3 separate regions of the Homo sapiens genome follow, and regions 1 and 2 are each linked to region 3. Evidence: promoter capture Hi-C in 16 types of primary human blood cells and fetal thymus (Javierre and others, 2016). All regions are on one chromosome and are shown on one strand. The core of a region is centred on a gene start or on the middle of the fragment in contact, and the rest is flanking DNA. Distances in the headings are between cores, read along the strand shown.

What was found. The method cuts DNA at HindIII sites, captures the fragments that hold promoters and counts their contacts. A CHiCAGO score of 5 or more calls a contact.
Region 1: a contact is called between a fragment that was not itself captured here and the fragment with the promoter of BACH1-IT2 in region 3, in 1 of 17 cell types (naive B cells). The highest score is 5.5, in naive B cells.
Region 2: a fragment that was not itself captured here is called in contact with the fragment with the promoter of BACH1-IT2 in region 3 in 1 of 17 cell types (M2 macrophages); the score reaches 5.0 in M2 macrophages.

What each region holds. Positions count from the first base shown.
Region 1 is chr21:29,210,241-29,214,962 of GRCh38, forward strand. The region is part of intron 1 of LINC00189 (long intergenic non-protein coding RNA 189); the gene reads left to right. Among named protein-coding and RNA genes, the nearest start is that of LINC00189, 19 kb to the left of the region's middle. The HindIII fragment of the contact is 4,266 bases long and covers 430-4,695 here.
Region 2 is chr21:29,230,270-29,234,431 of GRCh38, forward strand. All of the region lies in intron 1 of LINC00189 (long intergenic non-protein coding RNA 189), which reads left to right. Among named protein-coding and RNA genes, the nearest start is that of LINC00189, 39 kb to the left of the region's middle. RefSeq lists enhancers at 3,258-3,437, 3,868-3,967. The HindIII fragment of the contact is 9,137 bases long and covers 1-4,162 here.
Region 3 is chr21:29,369,817-29,374,480 of GRCh38, forward strand. It overlaps BACH1-IT2 (BACH1 intronic transcript 2), which reads left to right and starts at 2,685. Exons shown (of 2, transcript NR_046564.2): 1 at 2,685-2,747; 2 at 3,426-4,164. The HindIII fragment of the contact is 7,280 bases long and covers 1-4,664 here.

The DNA of each region.
Region 1 (4,722 bases), core at 1,313-3,812, 160 kb before region 3:
CCTTTGAGCTCTTTCTTTATTTTTAAATGTCTTGCTAATGGAGTTTCTTAAAACTGTTTTTTTCTTGGAGTATTTCCTTCAGGGTTGGTTTATATACCACACAGGAAACCAGTTTCATTACCTGATAATTGTGCTTTGGTTATAGAACCAATTCTTTGAATGGGCTGGACATAGGAGGCCAAGTAGAAGTCAGCCTTGTTCTTTCAAACCCCCTCTCAGATTTCTCTTTCCTGTCTATGGATAAATTTGTCTTAAAGATCCCATTTTCAGGTATTAAAAAGTCCAGCCCATGGGAAAACAATATTCACATGTAAAATAATGAAGTTGGATCTTTACCTAACATCATATATAAAAATTAACTCAAGGTATATCAAAGATCCATTTGTAAAACCTAAAATTATATAAATCTTAGAAAAAACACAGGGCAAAAGCTTCACAACATTGGATTTGAAAACAATCTTTTGGTGGCTGTTATACCAAAGGCAAAGGCCATAAAAGAAGAAATAAACAAATTGGGCTTCATGAAAAATTTTAAAATTGGACATCAAAGAAAATATCAGCTGGCTAAAAAGACAACCCACAGAATGGGAGAAAACATTTGCAACTCACAGAAGGGGTTGATTAGTATCCAGAATATATAGAGAACTCCTAAAACTGAACAACAACAAATGACCTGATTCAAATGGGCAAAGAACTTGAATAGGCATTTCTTCAAAGAAGGTGTATAAATGATCAATAAGCATGTGAAAAGATGTTCAACATTAACAGTCACTGGAGAGATACAAATCAAAACTAAAAGGAGATCCCGCTTGACACTCATTGGGATGGCTACTATTTAAAACAACACAGAAAATCACAAGTGTTGGTGAGGATGTAGAGAAATTGGAACGCTTGTACACTATTGGTAGGAATGCAAAATGGTACACTGTTGTGGAAAATGGTATGGTGGTGGATCCTCGAAAAATTAAAAAATAGAATTACCATATGATCCAGTAATTATGCTTCTGAGTATATACCCAAAGAAATGAAAGTGGTGCACCCATGATTATAGCAGCATTATATTCACAATAGCTAATATGTAGAAGCAACACAATTATCTATTGATTGATGGCTAGACAGGCAAAATGTGGTAAATACATACAAGGAATATTACTCAGCCTTAAAAAGGAAAGAAATTCTGAAATATGCTACAACATGGATGAACTTGAGGATATTATGTTAAATGAAATAAACCAGTCATAAAAAGACAAATATTGTTTGATTCTACTTATATGAGGCACTTAGGGTAGGCAAATTGATAGAGACAGTAGAATGGTGTTTCCCAAGGGCAAGGGGGAGAGGAAAGTGGAGAGTTAGTGGTTTATGTGTACAGAATTTTAGTTTTACTGAAGAGTTATGGAGATCGATGGTGATAATGGTTGTACAACATTATAAATGTATTTAATACCACTGAACATATACTTAAAAATGACTAAGACAGTAAATTTTAGTTATATGTATTTTAACACAATTTAAAAAATTGGAAACAAAAAGTCCAACCTAGGGTAACATCAAACTTTCAATCACTTGTCCAATTTAAACCTTCTCCCATCCCCCCACAGCTCAGGTGCCTGGGTCCTGGAAGCCTACAGTGGGGAAGGGGTGTTGCGGTCAGCTTCTCTGGTCCTCCTGACCACCTTTTCTCTCATCCACGGTTCCTCACGCCTCTAGGGTAGAATGCAGGAGAGTGGGAAGACTAGAGGCATAGCACAGTCTTAGTTGGCTGGCACTGTTACAACTGGCTGTTTCCAGCCCTCTGGGAGGCAGATGCCCAAATGCACCCTCCACACTTTCTCTCATGAAGTAGTTTCTGAAAATGCCCAAAGGGTCCTCTCACTACCTTGTTCTCTGGCTTTGAGTATGAAAGACTTGGTTGTGAAGTAAGCCATGTGATCAGATGACTGCTTATGAGCCTTGCTTAGCAACCTCATCTGATCAGATCCCATAGCCTCTCCTTTAGGGGTTGCTTTGCCCTGCCAGGCAGATGCCTTCTATATGGCCCTTTCAAGTGTTCCCAAGACGGTTACCTTCCATAGTCTCCATTTAACCCATAGAGCACTCAGCACCTGGCCTCAGACAGGGTATGAAGGTGTAGGCCGCTTCTCTTCACTTTGCTTAGAAGGGAGCTCTAGCTGGCCTCTCATTAGACTTTGTCAGATGAGAATCAGACACCTGTCCTGTGTCCCTGTAAGTCCAGGAAACTCCAGTTCCTCTCAGGGCCCGTGCTGTTGCTGGGGCCCAGAACCTGCCCCAATTTAGCTGGCTCCAGCTGGCTAGGGGTGGGGGACGATGGGAAGGGTGTGGTAGTGGTAAGCTGTCTTACTCCCTTCCTGCCAGACACCCCAGTCTCTATAAGCAGTTATTCTGAAGACTCTCATTTGGCATGCGCTATGGACTGAACGTGTGTCCCCCGCCCCGCCTAAATTCATATGCTGAAACTGTAATCCCTAAGATGATGGTATGAGGAGGTGGAGACTTCAGGAGGTAATTAGGTGGAGCCCTCATGATGGGACTGGTGCCCTTTTAAGAGACAGGAGAGCGCTTGCTTCCTCTCTCTCCACCATGTGAGGACATACCAAGAACTGATTCAGCCTGCACCTGGGTCTTCACTTCCAGCCTCCAAAACTGTGAGAAATAAATTTCTGTTGCCTAAGCCACTCAGCCTATGACATTTTTGTTATGGCAGTCTGAACTAACTAAGGCAATATGAGAATGGGAGAGAAGCGCTCCAGCTACTCTCCCAGGGGGAGGTGGGACAAACATACAAAGAAATCCCTATTAATCTTTGTACTCCTCCTGAATGGAAACTGAAGGAAGGTGAAGTAGATGAGGTTCAAGTCACCTCCTAGCAAATCATACACAGATATTCTAAAACTCTCTTTAAGTTTTGAAACTGGTGCACCATGATAATTCCACTGAACTAATTAATTGTCTCTGGTTGGAAAAATCTCAAAATTGTGAGGTACACGATTTAGAAAGAACAAGGACTATAAATACATTTAAAATATTTTTCCTAACCCTCCATACTAAGATGCAAAAAAATACCAATATTCATCTTCTCTGAAGCATGAATCACCTCAGAATAGCCCACGATGTACACTAATATGTGGAAGTACCTTCATGGGATTTAAATATATTTACCTTTCAATTATAGAATTAAGATGATTTTGGAAAATGGATAAAGAGACATTGAAATGTGGAAAAGTTGAACTCTTACACACTCATGCAAAATAGTTGATTTCCTCTTTTTGGCAATATCCCACCTGCTTTGCCCCTGCAACCCTCTGCATTCCTTGCTGCTGCCACACATGGAGGCATAGATACATGCTCTCACACACACACACACACACACAAACACACAAACACATAGACACACACAGACACATACAGACACATACACAGACACAGACATACAGACACAGACACACACACAGACACATACACAGACATATACACACAGACACATACACAGACACACATACAGACACAGACACACACACACACACACAGACACACACACAGACACAAATACAGACAATACAAACACACATACAGACATATAACATACAGACACACACACAGACACACACACAGACACAAGTACAGACACTGCAGACACACAGACACACATGCAGACACAGACAGACACACACAGACACACAGACACAAATACAGACACTACAAACACATACAGACATATATACAGACACACACAGACACACATAGACACACACACAGACACACAGACACAAGTACAGACACTGCAGACACACAGACACACACGCAGATACATACAGACACAGGCACATACAGACACACACATATACACAGGCACACACAGACACACACAGACACACACAGACACACACAGACACACAGACACATATGGAGACACACATACAGACACACATGCACACACAGACACACAGACATATACACAGACATACAGACACACAGACATATACACAGACACAGGCACACACACATGCACACAGACATACAGACACAGACACATCAGGCACACACGTAGACACATACACACAGATACACACATAGACACATACAGACACACAGACACACATAGACACACACAGAGACACACATACAGACACTTAGACACACCTGTGTATGGGAAAACAAGCCCTTAGTCTTTCCACTTCCTATTTGTCCCCTGACCCTTCTTCTATACCGTATACTCCATTTCAACCTTCCAATGCCGTTTACCATGTTCTGGATCTCCCATGCCTTGTAAATCCTGACAACATTTGTGTGTCTTTTGTCCTAGACCTTTGGGCTTCACTTTCTACTCACTGCCAAGAAAAAGTAATTCCCGATAGTGTTCTTGTTGGGGGTAAAAAGACATTCTTATGTGGTATCTCTCAGGCACCAAATGTACACCTTCTTTGCTCTCTTCAGTTCACACCACATAGACAAGCCTATAAAGAATTCCTTCTAGGAGGTTATTTGACATCTATTGAATTGGTTTTGGGGGCTCAGCCAAAAATAAGATAACGGAAAAATTTTATTTCATACCCTATTATATAGTAAATATTGTCCAGATTTAATAAACGATGTTTCTATTCTTTGCAAGTAGAATTATTTATCAGTAAATCCTAAGTGGCTTTTTAAAAATGACTAGAGTTTCCTGGAGACTAAAGCTTTCACACAAGTTTAATTTTAAAG
Region 2 (4,162 bases), core at 922-3,421, 140 kb before region 3:
ATGTAGGGATTATAATTTCAGATGAGATTTGGGGACGGGAGCACAGAGCCAAACCATATCAGGACTATTGCATGACCATCTATTAGGCACGTTGTAGGGAAAATTTCTATCTATATATTTGGTGTAGTGATTTAGCTTGGATTGTCTTTCCAACTCAAAGACTACATTGGGTAGTAAGAGCTAGTCTAATTTTTTTAAAAAATAATAAATATCTGGGCTATATGCACTTTTTTCATTATCAACAAAACTACTAAAATATCTTTTCACAGATTAAGCCTAACAATGGGGTTTCTAATTCTTTCTTACTATATTACAGTTTTGTTTTTTACAGTTTGTTAGAGATCACTAGACAGTTACTAATATCCATTATTTTGTCAACATGTAGCTATCTCTGTTGGTTTTTAAAATGCTTGAATATTTTCTGAATTTAAGAAGTGATTTTACAGTATTTGCTGTATTTACAGTATTTGCTGATTCAGATCATTATGATTATTTATAAAGCCAATCATATGTTTCTGTTTCTGTGTATTTTACAATTTTTTTCAATATGTAAGTGAGGACTGAGAATTAAGAAGTTTTTTGGAAAATGCTAGTTTTTATTAGATGGTGCCCAGAATATCTCAATAATGAAAAGTTGAGTATGTTGGAGTTAAACCAATTGCCTGCCCTCAATGCAGTGCTTATTTCAGTTTGCTGACAGCACTAGTCAGCAGTTTGCTGTTCTGAGTGTTTACTACCACATCCCTGACATATTCTACCCTGGAATCCCAGGACTCTGTGTTTTCTGGTTACGCTCGGCCTCTCTGGCTTCTTCACAGCTGCCGCTCCCTCATTCTCATCTTAACTGTGGCCACACCCAAAGGAAGGATTTGTAATTCTCTTCTTTGCAATTTTCTGCTTAGAGGTCTCCTCTGCTTCCATGCCTTAAATGGAGAAGCCCCAGTTCTTCACCCATGGCCCTGCCATGAATCTCCCAGCTCTGTGTGAAGGCTCTCCATTGAAATTAACAGGTCTAACATCCACCTCATCACGTTTCTCTTCACAAGAAGACTTTGGGATCTTCTCTGTTTCTGCCAGTGATTCAACCTTTCTCTCAGTCACTAAAGCTCAGATATATTGTAACCACCCAGTGGGTTCACCTTGCCTGCTGCCTAGACAGAATCTATCAAGACAGGGGAATTGCAATAGAGAAAGAATAATTTACACGGAGCCGGCTGTGTGGGGGACCAGAGTTTCATTATTACTCAAATCAGTCTTCCTGAGCATTTGGGGATCACAGGTCTTTTTTTTTTTTTTTGAGATGGAGTCTCATTCTGTTGCCAGGCTGGAGTGCAGTGGCGCGATCTCAGCTCACTGCAACCTCTGCCTCCCAGGTTCAAGTGATTCTCCTGCCTCAGCCTCTCGAGTAGCTGGGACCACAGGTGCCTGCCACCATGCCCAGCTAATTTTTGTATTTCTAGTAGAGACGGGGTTTCACATGTTATCCAGGATGGTCTCGATCTCTTGACCTTGTGATCTGCCTGTCTCAGCCTCCCAAAGTGCTTGGATTACAGGCGTGAGCCACTGGGCCTGGCCCAGGGTGTTTAAGGATAACTTGGTGGGTGGGGGAAGACCAGTGAATTGAGAGTGCTGCTTGGTTGGGTCAGAGATGAAATCATGGCAAGTTGAAGCTGTCCTCTTGTGCTGAGTCAATTCCTGGGTGGGGGCCACAAGATCAGGTGAGCCAGTTTATCAGTCTGGGTGGTGCCAGCTGATCCATCAAAATATCTGCAAAATATTTCAAGCACTAATCTTATGAGCAGTTTAGGGAGGGTCAGAATCCTGTAGCCTCCAGCTGCGTAAGTCCTAAAACATAATTTCAAATCTTGTGGCTAATTGGTCCTATAAAGGCAGTCTAGTCCCCAGGCAAGAAGGAGGCTTGTTTTGGGAAAGGGCTGTTATGGTCTTTGTTGTAAACTATAAATTCCTCCCAAAGTTAGCTCGGTCTATGCCCAGGAAGGGACAAGGACAGCTTAAAGGTTAGAAGGAAGATGGAGTTGGTTAGGTCAGATCTCTTTCACTGTCTCAGTCATAATTTTGCAAAGGCAGTTTCAATATCACAGTTCCTCTCCTCCCTGCTTAGGGAGACAGTGTCCCATAATTGTTAAGAGCACACCCTCTGACTCAAGCCATCTAGGTTCAAATCCTAGCCCTTCCCTTCTCCAGTTGCCGAACTCGAACAAGTATTGTAGCCTCTTCAAGCCCCATTTTTCATATCTGTAAAGCGGAGATCGTAACAAACTGTACATGTCGATGATGTCCACAGAGTTGGATCAAGGGTTACGAATCTGACAGCCCAAACCTCCAGACTGGCTGTGCTATTATTTCAGTTATTCTGACATGGCTCTGATGCAATGTGGACGTCAACAAAGCATTAAAAGTGAGAGACAGATTAGTAAGCAACTCCCTAAGGGTGGATTTTTAAATATGCACTAAAATTGTGGAGAAGTTAATATACTATATTAGTTCACTAGGGCTGCCATAAAAAAGTGCCAGAAGGACGCTAGGTGACTCAGAAAACAAAAATTTGTTTTCTCACAGTTCTGGAAGCTGTGAATCTAAGATCAATGTGTCAGCAGGTTGACTTCTGAGGCCCCTCTCCCTGGCTTGTAGATCTGTGACTTCAGATTGTCTTCCTTCTGTGTGTCTGTGTCCTAATCTTATAAGGACACCAGTCAGATTACATTAGGACCCATGCCAATAACCTCATTTTACCTTAATTACCTCTTTAAAGCCTTTATGTCTGTTAAAGCAAACTATAGCCTGAGAAGGACTCCCTACTTCTATATTTGAGTCCTTGCGGATGAACCGTAACCTAACTTAATAGGCAGATAAAATTGAAAACCTAACTTAGTAGTATGCACCTGTAACAATAGCTAAATCCTAGCCAATCCCAGCAGCCATATTTCAACCATTCATACACTGCTTAGTGCTCAAACTGTGTTCAAATAAGGCAAACGCCAACCTCTAACCAATCCAGCCGTTCTGTACCTCACTTCCAATTTCTGAACGTCATTTCTCTTTTTTTTTTTGGTCTATAAATCTTCCACCACATGGCTGCGCTGGAGTCTTTGTGAATCTGCTGTGATTCTGGGGGCTGTCTGATTTGTGAAACGTTCATTGCTCAATTAAACTCCTTTAAATTTAAACCGACTGAAGTTTTTCTTTTATCATGTCCCAAAACAGGAACATTCTGAGGTACTAGAGGTTTGGAGTTCAACATATACATTTGGCGGAGGTTGCAGGAAGACAATTCAGCCCATAGCATGTACCTACCTAAGGTCTTAACTGGTAAACAAACAAACAAAAAACCAACCTAGTTATAGTTTTAAATTTGTTTCTATTTTATTTCCCATGAGGTAATCTAAAAGAACCTGGGGAATCCAGGTGCTTTTCAAAGCAGTACTTGTATGGTGTTTCATCATTACCTCTCAGCGGGAGGGAAATGAAACTCAGACGGGCCCATTTGGTTTCTATGATACCAGCTTTCCTCACCTTTCTTGGGGAGAGTGATTTTGAAACTATGGGCTACAAAAGACTTTTGGATTATGTGTGAGCTATGCTCTCTCTCTGGGACTCCTACTATGCTTTGTGATTGTGAAAATAAGTGATTCAAAATCTAAGCTGTTGGAACTCTAAATTATTTTGAGCCATAAGGAAATGTGAATTATGGGGCCTGAGTCACAAGACAGGCAGCTGTAAACTAGGCAGCTGTGAACTTTTTGTAATATTTTTGATTGTCTGAATTGTCTTTTCCCTTACCTACATTATTTTGTAAAATGTTGTGAATGGTTGTAGGACGTGCGACAGGTGTAGCTCACCTGCTTGGTCGCCCCAAAGCTCAAAGGAGGAGCATGCAGACAGGCAGGTGCAGAGGCCAGTACAAGCACTTTTGGGCTCCTGTCCCACGGCAGAGTCTAGGGGTGGGTCTCTGTGTCACTCGAAGCCCATGTAGGCATGTATTACAAAGCTCTTTCAGATTTGTTGTCTGCAGACGGCTTGTGTGTTAATCAGCTTAACGGACCCTCTGCCTTATTGTGAGGGCAGGGGGCCAGCGTGACAACTTTCTTTATCCCAAGCTCTTGTCCAGTGTCCTGAAAGAATCAGATCACACATGGGCTTG
Region 3 (4,664 bases), core at 1,435-3,934:
CTTGGGTCCGAAACCAAACTACACTACCAGCTTTCCTGGGTCTGCAGCTTGCAGATGGCAGAGCATGGGACTTCTTAGCCTTCATAATCAAGCGAGCTAATTCCTCATAATTAGTCCATCTGTGTTAGTCCATTCTCACACTGCTATGGAGAAATACCCGAGACTAGGTAATTTATAAAGAAAAGCGGTTTAATTGACTCACAGTTGTGTATTGCTGGGGAGGCCACAGGTAACTTACAATCATGGCGCAAGGTAAAGGAGAAGCAGGCACCTTCTTCACAAGGGTGGCAGGATAGAGTGCAAGCTGGGGAAATGCCAGATGCTTATAAAACCATGAGATATCGTGAGAACTCACTATCACAAGAACAGCTTGGGGGAACTGCACCCATGATCCAATTACCTCCACCTGGTCCTGACCTTGACACATGGGGATTATGGGGATTACAGTTCCTGGTGGGATTTGGGTGGGGACACAGAGCCAAACCATATCACTATCTCTCCCCCTCATCCCCTCTCTCTCTATTAAATCCCTTATTGGTTCTGTTTCTCTGGAAAACCCTGAATACAGTGGGAAAGAGGTAAACCTTTGTGGTTGTAAGCTACTGAGACTTTGGGGTTATTTGTTACTGTAGCATGATCTGGCCTATTCTAATTTATACAGTGGGATTTTTTTTTCCCCCACAAACACTAAGGAAGTAGCATGTGGAAGGCCAGACCTTCTGTTGCCATCAGTAGGGGGGTTTCTGTAGTCTGAGGACCTATGAGCCTTTTGGGTTACCTTTGACTTGCACTTGGGCTTTTATGTTGATGCCAAGCAGTATGTTTATACTTCTCTAAAATGTATTTTTCTCTATATAAATAGTGTTTTTGTTAACTCTCACCGGCTCCAGTCTCAACTTTTGCCTCTAATTTTTCCCATAATATTCACTAACTCTAGTGATAGCTGTCTATGCGCATTGTACTGAGACTAATTCAGAGAGTGGGTTGGATGAACTTTGGTTTGATTTGTACGTAATTGTTAAAAACTGTGTTTAAGAAAACAGTTGTACCCTTGGCAAAACCTGGAAGTCTCTATGTTAACAATTTTCCCAATTTTTGTTTTAGGAAGCCATTCTGCATATTATGTTTTTAAATAAAAGGATTTGACTTTGGGCTGACAATTTAGCATTTAACCACTGTCTCCGCACCAGTTCCACAAGAGCAGGGATTTAGATTAATTGGAAAAACCTCATTGGTTTCTGATGGAGGGGGCATTCATAGAAACAACCTACTGACAACTAAGGAGCTACTGCGATGGGATGGGCAGCCTGCAGCTTCACTCGGTGGGCAGCCTCCACAGGTACTTTAATTCCTCGCTCTTCTGGCCAGGCATCTCTTGGTAAAGGCAGGTAGAGGAAGCAAAGCAATTACCTAGATAATTAAGGAAAAACAAACCTGTATGTGGCAGGTAACTTGGGGAGCTGCTTCTGATTTTCTAGGCAACTATTTTCATTCTTCACTTCTCTGGTGTCAGCAGGAATCTGAGCTAGATCCCAAGAGCAACTCGAACAATTACAATGCTCTCAGTTGGCAAACCCGGCTTCATAGCAACTTCCCTCCTCATTGATCTAGAGTTTGAAATAGCTTTGTCAGATCTCGGGTGTGTTCCTGCTGATTTATGGCAAAATCCCAGTAACAGCTGTGAAAATGTTTGTCCATTTGTGAAACTTCAGAAAGCGGGTCTAGCAAATCATTCTCACCTGGTGATTCTGGGGCAAGGTGAGAACTGTACCCTCACAGGCCGGGTGAATAAGATTCTAGTTGCGGTGGAGGCCAAGGAAGAAGATGTACTATGAGTCAATCTCTCTATGAGGCATTTGCTGAACCTTCCCCTCCTACACCTTCCTACAAGGCAGGTCCGATGACTTTTACTTTACAGATGAGAAGATGGAGCCTCCACAAGGCACATAGCTGGTGAGTGACAAAACCAGAATTCAAACCCAGATCCATTTGATAGTGACATTTGTTTCCACTACCCTAGTGGCTCTGGGGGAAGCCAGGACACCCATATTTTTGTAAAGTCCCGTAGTTGTTTCTAGTGTCATCCGGGTTGGAAACTGTATATTAAGTCAGTGGTTCTCAAACTTTAGCATGCATTAGTATCCCCTGTTAGGCTTGTAAAAACACAGATTGCAGGCCCCACACTTAGATTTCTGACTTGGTAGGTAGGTCTGAGTTGGGAACCAGGAACTTGCCTTTCTAACAAGTTCCCAAGTGATGTTGATGCGGGGGCCTGGGCACTACACTATGGGAACCACCACCGCATTAAGGTGAACTCAGAGCTGAATCTGACATGAAAATCTGCATTAATGGAGATGACATCAGATATCTGCAAAGTCACTTAATAGAGAACGGTTGAGACTAAGTCTTGACTAATATTAAAACTAACACATCTAAAAAGACTATGTCCATCACAGGTGGGTGGTCAGAATAGAAACATTACATAATGGGAAAGAAAATGTAGCTGATGCTATTCATCTAGAAGGAAGAAGTGATGTAAGGGTCAGTTTCCACCTTTGCTTTGAATTCCTTGGACAGCAAGCAACCATATGAGCATTAATTTGATTTATGTTTTTCAGGTATCGTATCTGATTTCAGATACATATGATGGTCTCAAGTGTGTTTTTTACCACCACCACTTTGTAGGCCTGTTGATGCCACTGCTGTTGAAGTCTATGTGAATGGTGCCCCCTGGTGGAAGGAAAAAGGTAGTTTATTACAGTCCGTTGTAAATGAGTGACCTAGCGTTGTTATCATGCTCTGCTCCTAGAGACCACTCCACTCACCTTAAACTAGCGAGCCTGAGGACCGGTCCCGGGGACCCATGAGAACATGATCTCCGAGAGCCCTGCCCTTGAGAAAGGTTCTCCTCAGCAATACTCCAACTCACCCCAGACCTAAAATTTTTTTTTTTTTTTTTGGAGACAGAGTCTTGCTCTGTCGCCAGGCTGGAGTGCAGTGGCATGATCTTGGCTCACTGCAACCTTTGCCTCCTGGGTTCAAGCAATTCCCTTGTCTCAGCCTCCCGAGTAGCTGGGACTACAAGCGCACACCACCTCGCCTGGCTCATTTTTTGTATTTTAGTAGAGACGGGGGTTTCACCATGTTGGCCAGGATGGTTTCGATCTCCTGACCTTGTGATCTGCCAGCCTTAGCCTCCCAAAGTGCTGGGATTACAGGCGTGAGCCACCATGCACGGCCCTAAAATTCTTAAAACGTGAAAATGGGGGAAGATGGTTAACACATCCATATGCTATCATGATATATATCTTTCTTCTTAGTTGTATGGGATGAAATGATGCCAAGATTTTCCTTACAGAGTAGGGATTGTGACTGAAGCCTTTGGACAGGTATTTAGGCCCTTATGAGTGTCCCCTCTTGTCTAGAGAATGGGACGCCAGGAATGTCAGATGCTTTTCAGCCTCTCCCCTGCTCTCACGCCTAGAAACAAGAGCTCCACAAAGGTCTCTCATTCCTCAAGGCTGATGAAAAGCCCAGCAGCTAAATGGCCAGAAGCCTGTCTTTGTGAGAAAGCAAGAAGTCTCTCGGTTTGAACTCTTCGGTCTAGAGACAGATTCTTCTACCAGTGGTGTAAAACCCTAAAGAGGCTCTGCATAAGACCTACCACTGCTCTGTGTCTCATGACACCCTGCCCCCACCACTGGAAGGCCACACTTATTCTTTGTGTTCATGCTTCTCTATGATCTGCAAGTTTCCCAAGAACACCTGGATTCGAAGCTCAAGTCCACCGCTAAATAGCTATGTGACCTAATGTGTCAGATGGTTATAAGGATTACAGAGAAAGAGGTATAGATAGAGCTGGTAGCAGTGACAGACACATCTTTACATCATATAATTCTGACATGCATTATTATTGTAGTTTTCTGTTATTCAGACATACTTGTTAAGAAGGTGCTGGGGACAATTTGTACATGCTGGGTATGAAAGGGCTTGGAAAGTATTTCATGAATGGAGTTGGCATTGAGGAGTCCAATCCATGTACAATGGGTAGAATTAGAAAGGCATTGAGGATAGTGTATTAGTCTGTTTTCAAACTGCTGATAAAAACATACCTGAGAGTGGGTAATTTATAAAGAAAGAAGAGGTTTAATGGACTCACAGTTCCATGAGGCTGGGGAGGCTTCACAATCATGGCAGAAGGTGAAAGGCACATCTTACATGGCAGCAGGCAAGAGAGAATGAGAGCCAAGGAAAGGGGGAAACCCCTTACGAAACTGTCAGATCTTGTGAGACTTATTCACTACCTTGAGAACAGTATGGGGGAAACCGATTCAATTTTCTTTCACCGGGTCCCTCCCACAACACATGGGAATTATGGGAGCTACAATTCAAGATGAGATTTGGGTGGGGACACAGCCAAACCATATCAGGTGGTTACATAAGAGATCCAGTAGAGAGGTGGGAACTCCAGAGGAGATAACTCACCTGGAAAGTAGGCAATCAGGAATATAGGATCCCAGTATGATGAAAAAAAAGGGGCTGTGGGTATGGGAGGCATATCTCAGAGAGAAGAAACACTGCTGTTCATGCCTGTGAAACCCAAGGTTTCCCCTTCCTCTTAAGGGTTCTCTCCCTCTAATGAGAGTTGTTTACACTGCTGATTA